Regions from separate parts of the Homo sapiens genome. Here all the other regions are linked to region 3. The links are contacts of gene promoters, found by promoter capture Hi-C in blood cells and fetal thymus (Javierre and others, 2016). All regions are on one chromosome and are shown on one strand. Each heading gives the region's core, a stretch centred on a gene start or on the middle of the fragment in contact. The rest is flanking DNA. Distances are from core to core; before and after follow the strand shown.

Region 1 (3,696 bases), core at 387-2,886, 470 kb after region 3:
TTTCTGTCCTTATGGATTTGCCTGTTCTGGACATTTCATATAAATAGAATCATACAGTGTGTGGCCTTTTGTGACTGGCTTCTTTCATTTAGCCTTATCTTTTCAAGGTCCGTTCATATTGTAGCATGAATCCATTGGTCCTTTTATGACGGAGTAATAGTGTATTATTTGGATATGCCACATTATGTTTATTTATTAGCAGTTGATGGATGTTAGGTTTGTTTCCATTTTTGGCCATTGCAAATGATGCTGCTATGAGCATTTGTATGTTAATTTTTGTGTGAACTTATGTTTTCATTTTTGTTGGATATATAGCCAAAAGTGGAACCTGAGTTATATGGTAACTATGTTTGACTTTTTGAGAAACTAACAAATTGTTCTCCACAGTTGTTGCACCATTTGACGTTTCCATCGGCAGTGTATAGGTTCTAATTTCCCCACATTCTTGCTTAACACTTCTTGTCCATTTTTTTTTAAATCTTAGTTGTTCTGGTGGGTGTGAAGTGGTATCTCATTGTGGTTTTAATTTACATTTCCCTAATGACTAATGTTATTGAACCTCTTTTTTTTTTTTTTTTTTTTTTTTTCTGAGACAGAGTCTCGCTCTGTCGCACAGGCTGGGGTGCAGGCATGTGATCCCGGCTCACTGCAACCTCTGTCTCCTGGGTTCAAGCGATTCTCGTGCCTCAGCCTCCCGAGTAGCTGGGACTACAGGCGTGCACCACCACGCCTGGCTAATTTTTGTATTTTTTTCATTAGAGACGGGGTTTCACCATGTCGGCCAGGATGGTCTCGAACTTCTGGCCTCAAGTGATTCGCCCACCTTGGCCTCCCAAAGTGCTGAGATTACAGGTGTGAGCCACCACACCTGGCCTGAGCCTCTTTTCATATGATATTTGGCCATTTGTGTATTTTCTTTGGAGAAAAGTATCCAATTCTTTGTCTTTTTAAAAATCAGATTGGGCCGGGCGCGGGTGGCTCATGCCTGTAATCCCAGCACTTTGGAAGGCTGAGGTGGGCGGATCACTTGAGGCCTGGAGTTCGAGACCAGCCTGGCCAACATGGAGAAACCCTGTCTCTACTAAAAATACAGAAATTAGCCGGGCATGGTGGTGTGTGCCTGTAATCTCAGCTCCTCGGGAGGCTGACGCACAAGAATGGCTTAAATCTGAGAGGCGAAGATTGCAATGAGTGAGACCACACCACTGCACTCCAGCCTGGGTGACAGAGTAAGACTGTCTAAAAAAACAAAAAAAACAAAAAAAACAGATTATCTTTGTTGTTGAGTTGTAAGAGTTCTTTATATATTCTGGCTACTAGACTTTTAGAAACATGCAAATACTTTTTCACATTCTGTGAGTTGTCTTTTTTTTTTTTTTTTTTTTTTTTTGAGACAGATTCTTGCTCTGTTGCCCAAGCTGGAGTATAGTGGCGTGATCTCGACTCACTGCAACCTCCACCCCTGGGGTTCAAGCGATTCTCGTGCCTCGGCCTCCCAAGTAGCTGGGACTACAGGCGTACGCAACCACGTCTGGCTGATTTTTGTATTTTTAGTAGAGATGGGGTTTTACCATGTTGGCCAGGCTGGTCTTGAACTCCTGACCTTAGGTGATACACCTGTCTCAGCCTCCCAAAGTGCCGGCATTACAGCCTGAGCCACCACATCCGGCCTGCCCAGCTAATTTTTCTATTTTTAGTAGAGACAGGGTTTTACTATGTTGGCCAGGCTGGTCTCGAACTCCTGACCTTAGGTGATCCACCTGCCTCAGCCTCCCAAATTGATGGGATAACAGGCGTAAGCCACCATGCCCGGCCATCTTTTCATTTTCTTGATGGTCTTCATTGAAGCACAAAAGATTTAGATTTTGATTAAGTTCAATTTATCAATTTCTTTGGTCACTTGTGTTTTGGTATCATACATGAGAAACCATTGCCCAATCCAAGGTCACAAAGATTTATAACAATATATTCCTGTATGGATTTTGTTTGTTTTTTGAGACAGGGTCTTGCTCTATTGCCTAGGCTGGAGTGCAGTGGCACCATCTCGGCTCACTGCAGCCTCAACCTCCCAGGCTCAAGCACTCCTCCCACCTCAACCCCCCAAGTAGCTGGGACTACAGGCATATGCCACCGTACTTGGCTAATTTTTGTACTTTTTGTGGAGATGGGGTTTCTCCATGTTGCCCAGGCTGGTCTCGAACTCCTGGGCTCAAGTGATCCACCCACCTCGGCCTCCCAAAGCGCTCGGTTTACAGGCGTGAGCCACCACACCCAGCCTGCAGTGTGGATTTTAATAACAAGGAAAGAAAGCACTACTTGTTTACCAGCCCACTTTAGGTGGGAGCGCAGGGGTTGCCGCCTGTATGAGTGAGGGGCACACTGTGGCACTGGCCTGTTGCTATGCTGCTCTTCAGATTGCTGTGTCCTGACCCTCCTGGACGCGTGGTGACAGGCCTCATCCCAGAACCCCTGGAACAGAGGTTTCCAAACTCAGTGAAATGGAATCCCATCCGGAATTCTAGCACACCATGTGGGCCGGGACCTCCAACTGTGGTGGACTTGGAGGCAGGCAGAGGCGAGTTTATCTCCCACCCCTACTTCCCAACGGTTTAGTCCAAGTCAGTCATTTAACCTGCCTGTGAGCTGGAGGCTGGTGAGCTGGGGTCCTTGTGAGGCCTGCAAGAGACTGTGCAGTGAAGGTCAATGGCTTAGAAGAGTGTTGGGCCTGAGGTTAGGGCTGACCATGTGCTAGCCATTACTAGGTGGTTCGGGAAAGAAAAGGAATTCATTTCTCTTGAAAGGTGTTTATATTGTTGTCTTCTTTTAAAGTTAGTTGGCTAGAACAAAGATCCTTTTCAAAATTTGGAATCAGGGGCTATGTTGAACTGTTACAATCTTAGCATTGGCTTTAGCATCCAATTTATTTCCATAATTTGTTTTAGTTGCAAAGTACTGAGGCTGTGAATTACAACAGATTTTCTTTTGAACTTACAGTCTTGCAACTCTCTTCAGTTAAAGCTGAGGTTTGAATCCATCAATGGGGAATTTTAGCTTAAAGTTGAATCACACATATTATGCCTGACTCCTGCTAGAATGCCTCATACCAACATAAATTAAAGTGAGACGAGGAGGGCCGGGCATGGTGACTCACGCCTGTAATCCCAGCACTTTGGGAGGCTGAGGCAGATGGATCACAAGGTCAGGAGTTCAAGACCAGCCTGGCCAACATGGTGAAACCCCTTCTTCACTAAAGATACAAAAAATTAGCCAGGCATGGTGGCACCCACCTGTAATCCCAGCTACTCCAGAGACTCAGGCAGGAGAATTGCTTGAACCCAGGAGGCGGAGGTTGTAGTGAGCCGAGATCGCGCCATTGCACTCAGCATGGGTGACAGGGCAAGACTCCATCTCAAAAAAAAAAAAAAAAAATAGTGAGACAAGGATTCCAGCTCTTAGCATGTGTGTCTCAGCCACACTTGGGGATGGCCTCAGTGACATGTAATTCACTCGCTGGTTAGTGCCCCACAGATAAGCACGCTGCCTGGGTGTGTGCCAAGCCGAAGCATCTAGGCCTGGCCTGGGGTTTGCATTGAGTGTAGGTGTATGTGTTTTGAAGTATACTTGGTTGCAGGGCATGTGCGCAGGCATTCTTAGTGAGAATTTAAGTTGCAGGACCACAGCCCAGCTAGTGTTTAC
Region 2 (3,592 bases), core at 67-2,566, 420 kb after region 3:
CAGGCTGGTCTTGAACAAAATTCACTAATTTTAAGGGTCCAGTTTGATAAGTTTTGATAAATGTATGTCCCCAAATAACCACCACCCCAATCAAAATAGGTAATATTTTCATCACCCCAGAAAGTTCCCTCCTGCCTCCTTTTCCAGTCAATCCCACTAGACGTAATCACTGTTCTGATCTATGGATTATTTTTGGCTATTCTTTTACTTCATATAAGTGAAATCATATAGTTTATAATCTTCTGTATCTGGCTTTTTTCTCCCAACACAGTGTTTTGGAGATTCATCCATGTTGTTGCATGCATTCATAGCTTGTGCCTTTTTATTACTTGGTAGTATTCGGTTGCATGAATAAGTTACTATTTGCTTATCTGTTCACCTGTTGATGAACATCTGAATTGTTTCCATTTGAGGACTATTATGAATAAAGCTACTTTAAGCATTCATGTACAAGTCTCTTTGTGAACATGTGCTTTCACTTCTCTTGTGCAGATGCCTAGAAGTGGAATTACTAGTTGTATGCTAATTAGATATTTAACTTTATGTGAGGTTGCCACATCACTGTCCAAAGCGGTTGTACCAGCTTACACTCCTACCAGCAATTTATAAGAAGTCCAGTTGCACAGTATTCTTGCCGGAACTTTGTTTTGTCAGTGTTCTTAATTTTAGCCATTCTACTGGGTGTGTATTGGTATTTCATTGTCGTTTTAATTTCCATTTTTCTGATGACTAAAGCTTCTTTTCATGTGCATATTGGCCATTCACATATTTTCTTTGGTTTTTTGGTTTTTTTTTTTTTTTGAGATGGAGTCTCGCTCTGTCGCCCAGGCTGGAGTGCAGTGGTATGATCTTGGCTCACTGCAGCCTCCACCTCCCGGGTTGGAGCAATTCTCCTGCATCAGCCTCCCAAGTAGCTGGGACTACAGGTGCCTGTCACCACGCATGGCTAATTTTTATATTTTTAGTAGAGACAGGGTTTCACCGTGTTAGCCAGGATGGTCTCGATCTCTTGACCTCGTGATCTGCCCACCTCGGCCTCCCAAAGTGCTGGGATTACAGGCGTGAGCCACCGCGCCTGGCCCGGCCCACATATTTTCGTTTGTTAAGTATCTGTACAAATATTTTTACCCATTTAAAAACACTGAGTGGTGGTCGGGCACAGTGGCTCACGCCTGTAATCCCAGAACTTTGGGAGGCCGAGGCGAGCAGATCAAGAGGTCAGGAGATGGAGACCATCCTGGCTAACACGGTGAAACCCTGTGTCTACTAAAAATAAAAAAATTAGCCGGGCATGGTGGCAGGCGCCTGTAGTCCCAGCTACTCGGGAGGCTGAGGCAGGAGAATGGCGTGAACCCAGGAAGTGGAGCTTGCAGTGAGCCGAGATCACGCCACTGCACTCCAGCCTGGGCGACAGTGCAAGACTCCGTCTCAAAAAAAAAAAAAAAAAATTGAGTGGTTTTATTATTGAGTTGTAGGAATTGCTTATATATTTCAGATACAAATTCTTTTTCAAATATATGTATTGAGACTATTTTCTTCCTAGTCTTTGGCTTGCCTTTTCATTTTCTTAATGGTGTCTTTCAAAGAACAAGTTTGTAATTGTAATGGAGCCCAGTTTATCCATTTTTTTCTTTTATGGTCAGTGCTTTTTGTGTGTTGCAAGAAATCTTTACCTACCCATAGAATTGCCTTGGTGCCTTTGTCAAAATCAATTGACCATATATCTGTGGATCTGGATAATCTATTTATGTCATTGATCTATGTATCTATTCTTACACAAGTCCCCACTGTCTTGATTATTGTGGCTTTATAGTATATTGAAATTCAGTATTGTTAAGTTCTACAATCTTTTCCAAGATTGTTTTGACTATCAGGTCCTTTCTTTATAAAGTTTATATTAAGCTTGTCAATTTTTCTTTAAAAAAAAAGTCTACTGGGATTGTGATTGGGATTGCATTGAATTTATAGGTCAATTTGGGAAGAATTGACAAAAAATATTGAACCTTCCAATCCATGGACATGGTATATTTTTCCACTTATTTGGGTCTTTTAAAATATATCTCAGCAATGTTTTGTTGTTTTGGTGACAAAGTCTTGTACATCTTTTGTTAAATGTATTCCTAAATATTCTGTGGTTATGCTATTGTAAATAGTATTTTTATTTCATTTTTAAGTTTATTGCTGGTATATAGAAATGCATTTTATTTTTGTATATTGATTTGTATCCTGTAATCTTGTTAAATTGAGTTTGATTAGTTGTTTTTTTATTTTGTTGTAAATGCCTTGTTACAGGATTCCCTATGCACATAACCATGTCATGTGTGAATAAAGACAGTTCTACTTCTTTCTCTCAATCTTTGCCTTTTATTTCTTCTTGCCTTGTTGTATTGGCTAGGACCTTTAACCTAACATTGAATAGAAGTGGTGTGAGTTGTTATCCTTGTCTTGTTCCCAACATCAGGGGACAGCATCTAGTTTTTCACTATTAAAGTATGTTAGCTCTAGGTTTTTTTCATAGATGTTTTTATCAGGTTGAAGATCCCTTTTATTCATATATAGTTTGCCCAGAGTATCATGAATGGGTGTTGAATTTTCTCACTTTTCCTGTATTTATTGAGATTATCTTGATTTTTCTCTTTAATTTTGTTAATGTAGTTTGTTACATCAACTAAATGCTCTAATGTTAAACTAGTCTTGCATTCTTGGTATAAACTCTACTTGGTCATGATGTATTGTCCTTTTTATATGGTGCTGGATTCAGTTTGCATCTGTTTTGATTTTTATATCTGTGCTCATGAGAAAGATTGGTCTGTGATTTTCCTTTCTTGTAAGTCCTATCAGGTGTCAGGGCTTAGTTATAATTTTGATGTATTTACAAGCATATACATTTTTTACATAAAAATTAAACATTATACAGAGTGCTTTGTATCTTGGCTTTTTTCCATCATATATATTTTGGAAATCTTTCTGTATAGAACATATAGATATAGTTTTTTCTTTTTAGTAGCTAATTTATTAAATCAATACATGCTTATTGCAGAAAACATGAATGATACTTAAAAATATGAAGAAAACAAATCACTCATCCCAAAGCCCTGAGATAATTAGTTTTAAAATATGTGTTTCAAAAGTTCAATTCCTTCCCCCATAATACAGAACAACAACAATCAAGAGATATTAAAACCCTGTTTTTCTTCCTGTATTACTCTGAGAAGAGTATTTTCTCTGTACTAAGAGGTGATGCAGCAGGAAGGGTAAGAATGGGGATTCCATGGGCCTGGGTGTGAATAGCCAGCTCTGCTCCTCCTTGTCCTATAACCCTGGGAGGCAGTGTCACTTGCCACACTGCACCTCAGCGGCCTCCTCTGTAAGATGAGCATCATAATAGCATCTGCCATTACAGGAATTTTTTTTTTTTTTTTTGAGACGGAGTCTTGCTCTGTCGCCCAGGCTAGAGTGCAGTGGCCTGATCTTGGCTCACTTCAACCTCCGCCTCCCGGGTTCAAGCGATTCTCCTGCCTCAGCCTCCCGAGTAGCTGGGATTACAGGCGCGCACCACCATGCCCTAGTTTTTGTATTTTTAGTAGAGACA
Region 3 (3,646 bases), core at 79-2,578:
ACAGAGAGCAAAAGTAAAGGGAAGGAACAGACTGGGGACATGCTCAGCTCTCCCCTAGACCCTCCAGCCTTCTCAGCTAATCCTTAGAACCCCCTGACACAGGAAGAGAAGCTGACCCCAACTCCAGCACTGGGTCAGATGGAGGTCATAAGGCTGGTCAGTGTGGGAATGTGCCCTGCACGCACTCAGACAAGGCCACTCCTTACCCTAAGTGCCACTGCCAAGCAAGGGAGATAGCCAAACTGCCCTCAGGAGGCAGGTTACACCCTGACCAGAGGGTTACACTTCAGGCTGTGGAGACCAAGGAAAGCTTTATTATGGGTCTGGTAGGGTAGAAAAAGGAATTGCAGGCTTTGGGTGGGCCAGTTAGGCTGTGCTCAGGCAGAAGCCAAAGCTAGAGAAAAACTACATGAGAGGCCTTGACTGTGCACCTGGAACCAAGAAAAGACACTTCCATGTGATTCAGTGCACTCACCCCCTTAAGAGATTCGTATCTTTGTGATCGGGGTTTCTTGATACCATTTCTGTGCCATTTTCGGGCTGTGGGAGAAAAAAAGGGAATTAAGCCAACAAAGAACTTTCCTCTAATAAGACCACCCAACATCACAGCTGGCAAGTCTGGGAGAACCAACACTTCCTACAGCAGCTACACTTGAGATATGGGAAACCCTTACTACTAAATGCAAAACACTCTGTATCTCAAGTAGATCTCTAAACCTATAAACCCTAAAGTTATTACTGGGTGAAATCAATCAGCCTCAGGCCCACAATGGAAACGTGCCCCTTCATCTCTGTCCCAGTTTGCCTGAACCAGTCCTTGCCAGGGTCTGGGATGTAGGCAGGGCCCAAAAAACTTACACTGGTTGTGTGTGGTGTGGTTCTTGGACTTGGCCATGTCTGCACCTGGAAGACAAAAGTGGAGATCAGGGTTAAGGGCTCGCCAGGCTGGGCCACCTCTGCCCCCCCCATTCTGGTCAGAATGAGCCTGCAGGCAGAGAATGTGCAGCCTCCACGAGTCTCGGCTTACTCTGCACGACCAAACGCCAGTCCTGGCCTCCCAAACCCAGGTAATGATGCCCTGAAATCAACTCCTTACCCCCGGAAAGCTGCATTCCCCAATAAAGTGGCTTTCCCTGCCATCCCCCTCCTAGGACCTAGAAGCACCATTCCCACCCCGCAGCTTTTGCTCCCGACAGACACACGGTCGGTCACCAGTCCTCTCCGCAGCCCGCGCCCCGCCGCCACCCGTAAGTCGCGGATGGCATCGGATGCCGCGCGGCCAACACTCACCATAAGCCGCGGCTCCCGAAGCGCCTAGAACCGGAAGAGAAAGGGGCTGCGGTGCAGCACGGGAAATAGGGTCAACAACGCCGGAAAGTACTACTGGAAAAGCTTCCCCAGGCTCCGCGAAGAAAAGTTCCGAAGCCCGGAAGAACGCAAGCCAGACGTGGAGGCGGTGCTACGAGCTTGCCTCCGCCCCCTTCAGGCTGCCTCCTCCCTTCTCTGTTTCTCCAGGACCTGTCTCTTAAGTCTTATTCAAGATACTGAAAAAGAAAGGAGTCCTTGAGGGATGTTGTTGGGCAAGAAGATCTGTGTTCTTTTTCTTTTTTTTTTTTTTTGAGACGGAGTTTCGCTCTTCCACCGAGGCTGGAGGGCAGTGGCACAATCTCGGCCCACTGCAACCTCCGCCTTCCGGTTTCAAGCGATTCTCTTGCCTCAGCCTCCCGAGTAGCTGGGATTACAGGCGCCCACCACCACGCCCGGCTAATTTTTACATTTTTAGTAGAGACGGGGTTTCACCATGTTGGCCAGGCTGGTCTCGAACTCCTGACCTCGCGATCCGCTCGCCTCTGTCCCCCAAAGTGCTGGGATTACAGGCGTGAGCCACCGCACCTGGCCGATCTGTGTTCTTAAAAGCACCCCTGTAATCCCAGCACTTTGGGAGGCTGAGGTGGGCGGATCACGAGGTCAGGAGTTCCAGACCAGCCTGGACAACATGGTGAAACCCCATCTCTACTAAAAATCCAAAAAAAAAAAAAAAAAAAAAAAAAAAATTCACGGGGCGTGGTGGCACGTGCCTGTAATCCCAGCTACTCTGGAGGCTGAGGCAGGAGAATTGCTTGAATCTGGGAGGTGGAGGTTGCAGTGAGCCAAGATCGCACCATTGCACTCCAGCCTGGGCTACAGGGCGAGACTCTGTCTCAAAAAAAAAAAAGAAAAGCACGCCTGACTCTTTCGTGGAGAAGGAGCAGAGGGGAGGAAGGAGAGAGGGCTGCCTGGACCTGAGGGAGGACAGTGGGAATGCAGAGGAGTGGACAAAGAAAGAGTACTGGACTTGGGACACAGAAGATGAGGGAGAAAAAGGAGGCAAGGATAGCCCCTATGTCTTTGGCTTGACAACTGGGTGAATGGTGGGCTGTTTACAGAGATGGAAGATTGAGTGGGGAGCAGGGGCTTTGTTTGTTTTGTTTTGAGGGGGAATGATGAGCCAGATATTTTTGTTGGATGCATTAAATGTGAGATGCCTGTTGGACATCAGAATTGAGAAATTGTTGCCTCTAACAACTCTGTTGCCTTCTCCACCTCTTCCCCCTATAGTTCATTTTCCACACGGCAGTGGGGCTTGGGGACTTGTTTTAAGATACAAATCAGATCCTGTCCCTTAAATCTGCAAGGACATCCCCTTGCATTGAAGATCAATTCTTTACCCACTTGACCCTGACAACCTCTGTCATTTACTTCTCTCCAAACGCATTGCCTTTCTTTCCTGCCAACCACAAATGTGTGTTCTGCCTCAGGACCTTTGCACTTGCTATCCCAGCCACCTGGACTGCCCTTCTCCCTGCTTTTTGGATGGTGTGCTCTTTCCTATAGAGGCCTCCCTGGACTCCATTATCTAAAATAGAGAACCACTGCCTCATCTCACCAGTGATTCTGTGTCCTCTCATGGTTTCCTTTCTTTTCTATTCTTTTTTTTTTTTTCTTTTTTTTAGACAGTCTCACTCTGTCTCCCAGGCTGGAGTGCAGTGGTGCGATCTCAGCTCACTGCAACCTCTGCCTCCCGGGTTCAAGCGATTCTCCTGCCTCAGCCTCCTGAGTAGCTGGGATTACGGGCGCACACCACCACTCCCAGCTAATTTTTAAAGAATTATTTTTAGTAGAGACGGGTTTTCACCATGTTGGCCAGGCTGGTGTTGAACTCCTGACCTCAGGTGGTCTGCCCGCCTCGGCCTCCCAAAGTGCTGGGATTACAGGCGTAAGCCACCGTGCCCGGCCATGGTTTGCTTTCTTTATAGAACTTTCCCAGACTCTAATTGCATTGTTTACTTAGTTGTGTATGTGTCCATTATCATAGGAGCCCAGAGTTTGGGACTGGTTTGATCACCTTCATTTTCCCACTGCCTAACTCAGCATAATGTAGATAGAGCAAGAGCTTAATAAACACATGCCCAGTGAACGTTCCTTGACAAGCCAGGTTCGTGGAGTGACAGACGCATACTGCAGAGGTTTAGGGAGTGAAGCGGAAAGGAGGTTGTGGAGGCAGGACATGTGGATGACTCATTACCAAAGCATTCCTGAGAAAGGGGAGAGAATTCTGACAGGTGTGAGTTGGGAGAATGAAAAGCAGGCTTATATACTGATGGAT

Evidence for each region. The method cuts DNA at HindIII sites, captures the fragments that hold promoters and counts their contacts. A CHiCAGO score of 5 or more calls a contact.
Region 1: a fragment that was not itself captured here is called in contact with the fragment with the promoter of RPL29 in region 3 in 1 of 17 cell types (naive B cells); the score reaches 6.0 in naive B cells.
Region 2: a contact is called between a fragment that was not itself captured here and the fragment with the promoter of RPL29 in region 3, in 1 of 17 cell types (total B cells). The highest score is 5.4, in total B cells.

The regions. Positions count from the first base shown.
Region 1 is chr3:52,463,153-52,466,848 of GRCh38, forward strand. All of the region lies in intron 3 of NISCH (nischarin), which reads left to right. Among named protein-coding and RNA genes, the nearest start is that of NISCH, 9.4 kb to the left of the region's middle. The HindIII fragment of the contact is 5,780 bases long and covers 1-3,696 here.
Region 2 is chr3:52,415,403-52,418,994 of GRCh38, forward strand. The region is part of intron 4 of PHF7 (PHD finger protein 7); the gene reads left to right. Among named protein-coding and RNA genes, the nearest start is that of PHF7, 6.5 kb to the left of the region's middle. The HindIII fragment of the contact is 1,167 bases long and covers 734-1,900 here.
Region 3 is chr3:51,994,567-51,998,212 of GRCh38, forward strand. It overlaps RPL29 (ribosomal protein L29), which reads right to left and starts at 1,329. Exons shown (of 4, transcript NM_000992.3): 1 at 1,291-1,329; 2 at 859-903; 3 at 476-540. The coding sequence starts at 895. RefSeq lists an enhancer at 1,274-1,433. The HindIII fragment of the contact is 1,082 bases long and covers 309-1,390 here.